Regions from separate parts of the Homo sapiens genome. Here regions 1 and 2 are each linked to region 3. Evidence: promoter capture Hi-C in human tissues and cell types (Jung and others, 2019). All regions are on one chromosome and are shown on one strand. Each heading gives the region's core, a stretch centred on a gene start or on the middle of the fragment in contact. The rest is flanking DNA. Distances are from core to core; before and after follow the strand shown.

Evidence for each region. The method cuts DNA at HindIII sites, captures the fragments that hold promoters and counts their contacts. A contact is called where the count stands out against the background at its distance.
Region 1: a contact is called between a fragment that was not itself captured here and the fragment with the promoter of OXCT1 in region 3, in 1 of the 25 tissues and cell types used here (mesenchymal stem cells).
Region 2: a contact is called between a fragment that was not itself captured here and the fragment with the promoter of OXCT1 in region 3, in 1 of the 25 tissues and cell types used here (lymphoblastoid cells).

Annotation. Positions count from the first base shown.
Region 1 is chr5:42,998,744-43,001,443 of GRCh38, reverse strand. It overlaps LOC105374746 (a long non-coding RNA gene), which reads right to left. Exons shown (of 3, transcript XR_007058755.1): 3 at 437-1,311. Among named protein-coding and RNA genes, the nearest start is that of FLJ32255, 6.8 kb to the right of the region's middle. RefSeq lists enhancers at 494-993, 994-1,495. The HindIII fragment of the contact is 7,656 bases long and covers 1-2,700 here.
Region 2 is chr5:43,026,860-43,029,559 of GRCh38, reverse strand. The region is part of intron 2 of ANXA2R-OT1 (ANXA2R overlapping transcript 1); the gene reads left to right. It overlaps LOC105374748 (a long non-coding RNA gene), which reads right to left. Exons shown (of 3, transcript NR_188279.1): 3 at 1,864-2,700. Among named protein-coding and RNA genes, the nearest start is that of ANXA2R, 12 kb to the left of the region's middle. The HindIII fragment of the contact is 3,202 bases long and covers 1-2,700 here.
Region 3 is chr5:41,868,982-41,871,681 of GRCh38, reverse strand. OXCT1 (3-oxoacid CoA-transferase 1) reads left to right here and starts at 1,257. Exons shown (of 17, transcript NM_000436.4): 1 at 1,257-1,401. The coding sequence starts at 1,324. OXCT1-AS1 (OXCT1 antisense RNA 1) reads right to left here and starts at 1,652. Exons shown (of 3, transcript NR_046635.1): 1 at 1,490-1,652; 2 at 1,300-1,391; 3 at 1-916. It overlaps LOC102723752 (a long non-coding RNA gene), which reads right to left. Exons shown (of 3, transcript XR_925956.4): 1 at 2,080-2,700. RefSeq lists enhancers at 661-710, 1,541-1,620. The HindIII fragment of the contact is 6,323 bases long and covers 1-2,700 here.

The DNA.
Region 1 (2,700 bases), core at 85-2,584, 1.1 Mb before region 3:
TTGGAAGTAAAAAAAAATGAAACTATCCATACTTGCAGAACATGAGCCTATCTTAAAGAGTCTAAAAGCAAACTTCCAGAACTCATGAGTGAGTTTAGCAAGGTCTCAAGATAGGAGGGTGCAAAGCTTCAGAGGGAAAAAGTTCCAGGGCCTTAGAACAGGAGAATTTCCTGCAGTAAGTTCTCAGGTCCTCTGCCTGTTCACTTGATTTCCTGTAGGCTTAGCCTGTGAGTCCCCCACCCTGCATGACCCCGGGCCGGTCCTCCCCTCCAATCTCTGCATAAGACACACCACTTTTTGTATTTGATTTTGCTCTGCAACCAGCAAATCCAGGCGACCCAGGTTTCCCTGCCAGTCCTGGCAACAGCAACCAGACACCCCACCCCTGAGCCTCATCCTTACTCAACGTCATCAGCAGGAACTCAGGTAACAGGAATTTCACATTTGTGTACAATTTTATTGAGAAGAGGAAGGAAAAAAGGCATAAAGTGATCTGAAGGCGAAACTTCTTCCATCGCATTTGAGAGAACTCAGGTATTATTGTAACTTTATTTATTTATTTATTTATTTACAAGAGGATCATCCAATGGAAGGTCTCAGAGGAAGTTTCAGGGCCCAGGATTCCAAAGGCGGGCCGTGGACACAGTCTCAGGGCGTCTGTCCCCAAGCGCATGCCATCTGCAGCCAGCAGTCTTGGAACTTTGGTTGGTGGCACCAGGGGACAGCAGTAGGCTGACACTCTCAAAGGTCTTCTCGGATGGAAGTCTCCGGCTCCAGTCGTCTGTCCACTAAGCGAGAGGCGAGTTGCGAGGGAGGCTGCGGGGGCGGGCGGGCGTATGTTGAGACCCTATGCAGCCTCCTGCTCTCCCGAGGGCTCCTGCGGCTCCTCCTGAATTGCCTGCGCCGGATCCAGAGCAGGCGACTCTGCGCCCCGCCTCCAGGTACTCTGAGGCTTGGGAAAGAGATCTTTTCGCCGGCAGTTTCAGCAAGGAAGCACGCAGGGAGCGGAAAGTATGTGGCAGTGGAAATCTAGGTCGGCCCAGGAGAGCTCGCAGTGGTAAGCACAGGAAGGGAGCATCCAGGACACCGAATGTACTGAGCTCCGGGCTGGAGGCATCTGGTCCCGCCGCCTCCTTTGCGGAATCCCGGGCCTGCCAAACTCGGAGGGGACACGGCAACTCCATCGCGTCCTTTCACCAGCGGATACAGGGTATCTAGGACTCATAAGTCAACATCTTTTGCGTTTTTGTAATCTTCTGGTCTCATGGGCCGTCCAAATCAGATTGCAGGGAGGTGGGTGTGAACCTTATTCTTAGGAGCAAGTTACATCAGGACATGGAATTAATGAGATTAACATAAAGTCCTATCATTTGAGATGAAGTTATCTAGTTAAACAATTTGCTTTAGGAATTGAAAAGAAAAAATATCACCTTTCTTGTACAGAGAAAGCCGTCTTGGGGCACCCTGGTTAGAAAGTTCATTATTGTCCCCAAATGCATTGCTAGTACTAGAGCAGACAGGATCCCTTTCTGCCTCAGAGTAGTGCTTGTCAGATGCCTAAAGATCGCTATGTTACTGAGGAGCAGGCCAGGGTAGTTGCCCATTTTTAAAATTAGAGGATCATTTTTTGGGGAGATATTTTATTATTGTATTATTCTGTGTTACGTTGACTCATGTTACATTTTAATTTTAGATTCAGGAGGTACATGTGTAGGTTTGTTATGAGAATATATTGCGTGATTCTGAGGCTTGATCTCATCACCCAGAGAGTGAACTAAATCCCCAGGAGGAAGTTTTTCAGCCTCTACCCCCTTATGTCCCTCCCTCCCTCCTTTCGGAGTCCTCAGTGGTCTATTGTTCTCATCTTTATGTCCCTGTATACCAGGCTGAACTCCCACTTCTAAGTGAGGACATGTAATATTTGTTTCTGCATGAATTTGTTTAGGATAATGGCATCCTTATAGAATAGCTTGAAGCTGGATAATGTGATGCTTTGGGCTTCATTATTTATTTATTTATTTATTGTTTGGGATGCTTTGCCTATTCATTGTCTTTTTTTTTTTTTTTTTTTTTGAGACAGGGTTTTTGCTGCAGCTCAGGTGGGAATGCAGTGTCATGCTCTTGGCAACCTGGACCTCCCAGGCTCAAGGGATCCTCTCCGTCAGCCTCCAGAGTAGCTGGTGATCCTCCCCCCTCAGCCTACAGAGTAGCTGGGAATACAAGTATGTGCCACCATACCTGGCTAATTTTTCTTGTATTTTTTGTAAAGATGGGTTTTCACCATGCTGCTAGCTTGGTGGTTGCCTCAGCCTCCTGAGTGGCTGGGACTACAGACAGCTGGGACTGCAGGCAGGAATCACCACATCCAGCTAATAATTTTTTTTTTTTTTGGTAGAAATTGTGTTTCACTGTGTTATCTGGTTTGGTCTTGGACTTCTGGCCTTAAGTGATCCTCCTCCCTCAGCCTCTCAAAGTGCTTGGATTACAGATGTTAGCCACCATGCCTAGCCCATAATAAAGTTGTTCTAGTCTTAGATTCTTCTCTCATGATGGTAATTCCACCTTCAGTTTTTGGGGTTTTTTTTTTTCGTTTTTTTTTCTTTTTTTTACAACATCTTGCTCTGTTTCCCAGGCAGAAGTGCAGGGGCAGGATCCCAGCTCACTGCAAACTCTGCCCCCTGGGTTTAAATGATTCTACCA
Region 2 (2,700 bases), core at 113-2,612, 1.2 Mb before region 3:
CTGGTTGAAAGTAATTAGGTCAGTTTTTAACAATATTATCGTTGATTTTATCATAAACTGAAAGATATTCTTAATCAGAACGAATGTAAAATGAATCCTTCTTTGTTGTATTCTTGCTGTGGATTTTTTTTCCTTCTCATATCCTCTGTGAAACTGGAATTTGTCTGAGTTAAACATGCTATTTGGAAAGCATCAATGGATACAATTATAGAATTACCTAATTAAACATTATTGTTTACTATGGTAAAATCTGATTGATCCCAACATTTAGCAAGCATGTTTTGATATCCTTCTGTGTTCCAGGGGCTATAAAGGGAGCCACAAATACAAAGATGAGGAGTTGGCTGCAGTTTTCACAACTCTTACTAATGAGAGAATAAAGACTCTGTCAGGAGATCATTCAGAACACAGCTAACTCTGTGTTTATTCCAGGAGCTGATTTGAAGACCAGAAAGAAAAGGTCTGAATTGAAGCTTCCCTTCAAAGCCATGCTTCTTTTTACTAGAAAAAAGGAAAATATGCAACTATACAACAGGAAGTGAAAAAAATGAAACAGAATGAGAATGACAGAATAGATACAGAAGGCAGAAGATTGAAAGCTCTTGTTAGGTGAAAGGTTTATGGACTCTAGGTGTCTGGAGAATGAATCCTGAGAGCAGGAGCAACTCCTACATGCCAGTATTACTCGAGAAGTACCAGTGGTGATCCCAGAAAACTAGCTTTAGCATTTTTTTTTTTTTTTTTTTGAGACGGAGTCTCCCTCTGTTGCCCAGGCTGGAGTGCAGTGGCGCGATCGTGGCTCACTGCAAGCTCCGCCTCCCGGGTTCATGCCATTCTCCTGCCTTAGCCTCCCAAGTAGCTGGGACTACAGGCACCCGCCACTACACCCGGCTAATTTTCTGTATTTTTAGTAGAGACGGGGTTTCACCGTGTTAGCCAGGATGGTCTCGATCTCCTGACCTCGTGATCCGCCTGCCTCGGCCTCCCAAAGTGCTGGGATTACAGGCGTGAGCCACCGCGGCCGGCCTCTTTAGCATTTCTTTGAGTATGTAGCCTGGATGTGTCTCTCCAGATGTGAACAGTGGATGGAACCTTGCATTGTAGAGAGTTGGCAGTGCTCTGCATGGGTATAACACACAGAGTAGTGACCATTCCCAAAGGAGACCCATGTCACACAGGCAGAGACCTGCTGTCCAGACTCTTATGCAGACATACTTCTCCCTCCAACATGTGCAAAGGAATGTACTATTTCTTTTCAACTTCCCCAGACAAAAACTGTTAAGGCAGGTGATACTTTCTCAGGGAATGTTGATTTACACATACTGCAATTATAATATTATCTGAAAAAAAAGAAATCTGCAAGTGATCTGAGGGTAAATGCTGCAGCTGCAAGCCCCACTTGCAAGTATTCTCAGGACAAATGGGAAATGGGTTAAATGACTGCGTATAGTATTTTGCTTTTACATGTTATTTATATTATGTTACATCCTCCAAGAATTAGCGTGTCATAACTTAGAGAATAAAGAACTCAGCTGATATAGGGGTCAACTAATCTGATAAACTTAGGAAGAAAATGTAGAAATATACCATCAAGCGTTATCAGTTACAGCTTTCTTACAAATGCCTTTGCTACATCTTTGGCCAACCTGATAATTTATGGAGTCAATATCATATACGTGGGCACTGTATCATCAGTAGTTTAACAATTCAATCAAAACTAAATCAAAACTTCCACCTTTATCTAATCATGTATCATTTTTGCCTAGAGGCCAGCAGGCCATCTTGGGCAGAAGACTACAAGATTTTTTTAGTCTAGATACCTCCCATTTAGTTCACTGAAAGCCATTAATTGCTTTCTCTTTGTCCATGGCTGTAACAAACGTTTATTTTTATTTTGGAGGCAAGGTTTCACTCTGTAGCTCAGGCTAGAATGCAGTGGTATCATCACAGCTCACTTCAGCCTTGAACTCCTGGGCTCAAACAATTATGTTGCCTCAGCCTCCTGTGTGGCTGGGACTACAAGCAGACACCAACACATCCAGCTAATTTTTTTTTTTTTTTTTTTTTTACTAGAGATGGTATTTTACTATGTTGCCTGGGCTAGTTTTGAGTTTTTGGCCTCAAGTGATCCTCCTGCCTCAGCCTCCCATAGTGCTGGGATTACAGGCATGAGCCACTATGCCCGGCCCATAATAAAGTTTTCTAGTCTTAGAATCTTTGTACTTTATATTCTCTCATGATGGTAACTCCACCTTTTTTTTTTTTTTTTTGAGACAGGGTCTTGCTCTGTTGCCCAGGCTGGAGTACAGTGGTGTGTTCTCAGCTCACTGCAAGCTCTGCCTCCCGGGTTCAAATGATTCTCTCGCCTCAGCCTACTGAGTAACTTGAGATTACAGGTGTGGGCCACCACGCCCAGCAAATTTTCTTATATTTTTAGTAGAGATGGCATTTCACCATGTTCGCCAGGATGGTCTTGAACTCCTTGCCTCAAGTGATCCGCCTGCCTTGGCCTCCCAAAGTGCTAGGAGTACAAGTGCGAGCCACTGCACCCAGCCTAGGTTGGTTTGTTTGTTTTTTGGTGTTGTTCATTGCATTACTCATATCGAAGTGGAAGTATCTGTGACAATTCTATCCTTACTATAGTAGCTAATATAATATCCTCCTAGTTACCTTTTCAACTAAGTTGCGTTAAGTTTCTTG
Region 3 (2,700 bases), core at 8-2,507:
TATAATATTTACAGGAAAAAAAAAAGTTCAGAGTTAAAAGAATACCATGAAAGGGCAAATGATTTTATGGACAAACTTTGAACTGCATCTTCACTGTTCATTACCTTACTGTATTTGCTAAGGAAGCTAAGATCTCATTTAATTTTTGTGTGCTTTGCTTTGGTTCAAAACTAACATCACATTCTCAGAACTTGGTCAGGCCTTAATCAAATAAAATGCTATTGAGCTTCCACTTGGTCTTTCCACTCTGCTAAGTGCAAAGACAGTTCTGGAGAAATCAGTCGTGGCTCATGTCCTCAAGGAGTTGGTCAAAAGACAAGGCTTGGCGAATATGTACGTGCCATGTCAATGAACTGCTACAATGGAATAAACTTATAATAATGCCTAACATTTATTGACTCCTCATAATAAGGCCATAAACTTTGCATGAATTAACTCATAGAAACGTTATGACGTTGTATCACAAGCAATCCTAATTTGCAGATGAGGACACTGAGGCTTAGGGAAGTTATCTAACTTGCCTAAGGTTAAAGCAATATACTGCTTTTATGGTTGCATCTTTAGTAATCTCTGGGGTTGCTGGGACTCCAGTGCGAGAAAGAGCCCGAAATTCGCAAACTTGGATGATGGGGAAGAAAAGGTGTGCTAAACTCAGGTCACAGAGGTCCAGTCTTAATCTTGTTCCTCTGCAAGCCTTGTTGCTCACACCTCTTGACCGACAGTTCGAGGCAAGTGCTCACAGCAAACTTACTCTATGTAAGCCAAGGCCAGATGTGGGGAGAAGGGGCTGAGAAATGTTAGAAACGTGAACGCAGTCCAGGCGGGAGAAGAGAAGGGGGCCTCGAGGGGTGCCCCTATGCAGCCCACACACACGCCAGGCACTAACTTGGAAAAGCAACAAGCTTGGCGGGAGATCCTCCCGCGGCCGGAGGGCCCTGAACCCTAGGCCAAGACTCATCCACAACCTAGGGGGAGGCGGCCACCAGCGCCCCATCGAAGCTAAAGGGCTGACAGAAGGGCTGTAGCGGCAAGTGTGCGCCAACACAGCTGCACACGCCCAGACACCTGAGGCGCTGAGAGGAACTTCCCCGCGATCCGCCCCGGCTGCACAGAGCCTCTTCTCCCCGCCGGGGCCCCGCCCAGCCTCACTTCTTTTAAAAGCAGCAGCCAGCAGCGCGCCGGTGGCGTGCGGCTCGAAAGGCCGGGAGGACGTCATCGACGCGCTGTCGAGCCTCCAGCCCGCCCGGGTTTCCTTCGCAGTCGCGCACCGACGCTCAAACGCGCGCTCCAACCCGCAGCCTCCTCCTGCCTCACCGCCCGAAGATGGCGGCTCTCAAACTCCTCTCCTCCGGGCTTCGGCTCTGCGCCTCTGCCCGCGGATCTGGGGCAACCTGGTACAAGGTAAAGTGCGGGGGAAGAGGAAGGCCATGGGCAGGAAGAACGTGGACCAAACCCTGAGTGGTGCCCGCGTTTTCTTCTCTGCCCCTACCCGCTCTCTCCAGCCTGGGATCTGGCATCCGTGGCGCGGTGCCCTGGTCACGGACACGCGGCGACGCGTTCCTGGCCTCGCCGGCCCCTCGGATGACCGCCTTTGCTTGGTTCTGCAGTCGCTTCCCTGATGGAGCGAGACGCGATAAAGAAGCGCGCGGAGAGGCTGAGAAGGGGCGGGAGGACTCCTGGCAGCGCTCCCGAGCCCTTTGGCGCTCGTCGGCTTCCCTCCTGGCACCCGCCCTTGGATAGGGACTCTGAGGGTCTGAACGGGGGGAGGAGGGCGCCAGTATATGGAGGTTTAGGAGTGAGGCAACAGCGGGTAGGTTTGCGCCCCCGATGTTGGATCTCTGGGCAGAGGAACCTCTAGAGGCCCAGAACCTGAGGCTGGGTTAGCCATGGCTCTGCTCGAGTTCACCGGGGCTGGATGCCGGGTGCGGCGGGTGTGGAATGCCGCTCCCATCCTCTCCTCCCTATTTGGCTCTGCTGCCCCGTAGACTGGAGCGCTCGCCAGGGCGTCTTGCCGGCCAAGCTGGGAAACCATCCGAGGTGTGTCCCTGGCCCGCGCCTGGGCTGCAGGGGAGGACAAACCTTTCTCTCGAGGCCCCTCGTATCCGGGTTAGGGGCTTTCGGTTTTCAGAGCCCTTTGAAATCCTTTTTGTGCCCCACTGCCGACTCTCCACCGAGTGGTATCCGGAGGCATTCCCACCGTGGACTGACTTGTGGTTTTGCCTTATGCACTGTCCTCGCTTGTAAGCCCACCCCTGTCTGGAGCCCTAGGAGCGAATTACAGGACCAGAGCGCCAGGTCCAGGAGGGTGGCTTTATCCCCGCCGTCTCAATCGCGGGAGCCTCTTCCTTGGTATTCAGTAATAGGTCTGAGCTTGACAGCGTGCCATGCACACGGTGCTTACTCCTGAAGCGTGCCTGCCTGGCCCCATTGCTCTTTCCTGCATCCAATCCCTGACCGCTGAGAACACAGAGGAGCCACTGAGCTCCTTCGGTAGGTGCTAGGGAATGGTTCAGAACTGGACCATTTTACTCTTAAATGCCTCTTAGGAAGCATTTTTATAACTGCAGATAGACTTGGATATATAAAGCATTATTAAAAGGGAACTTGACCTTCAGTGAGATTGCAGCGGTGCTGAAGCTAATACAAACCAGAGCACAGCGATACCCTTGGGCCGAGGTCAGGAACGTTCCTTCTTTTGAC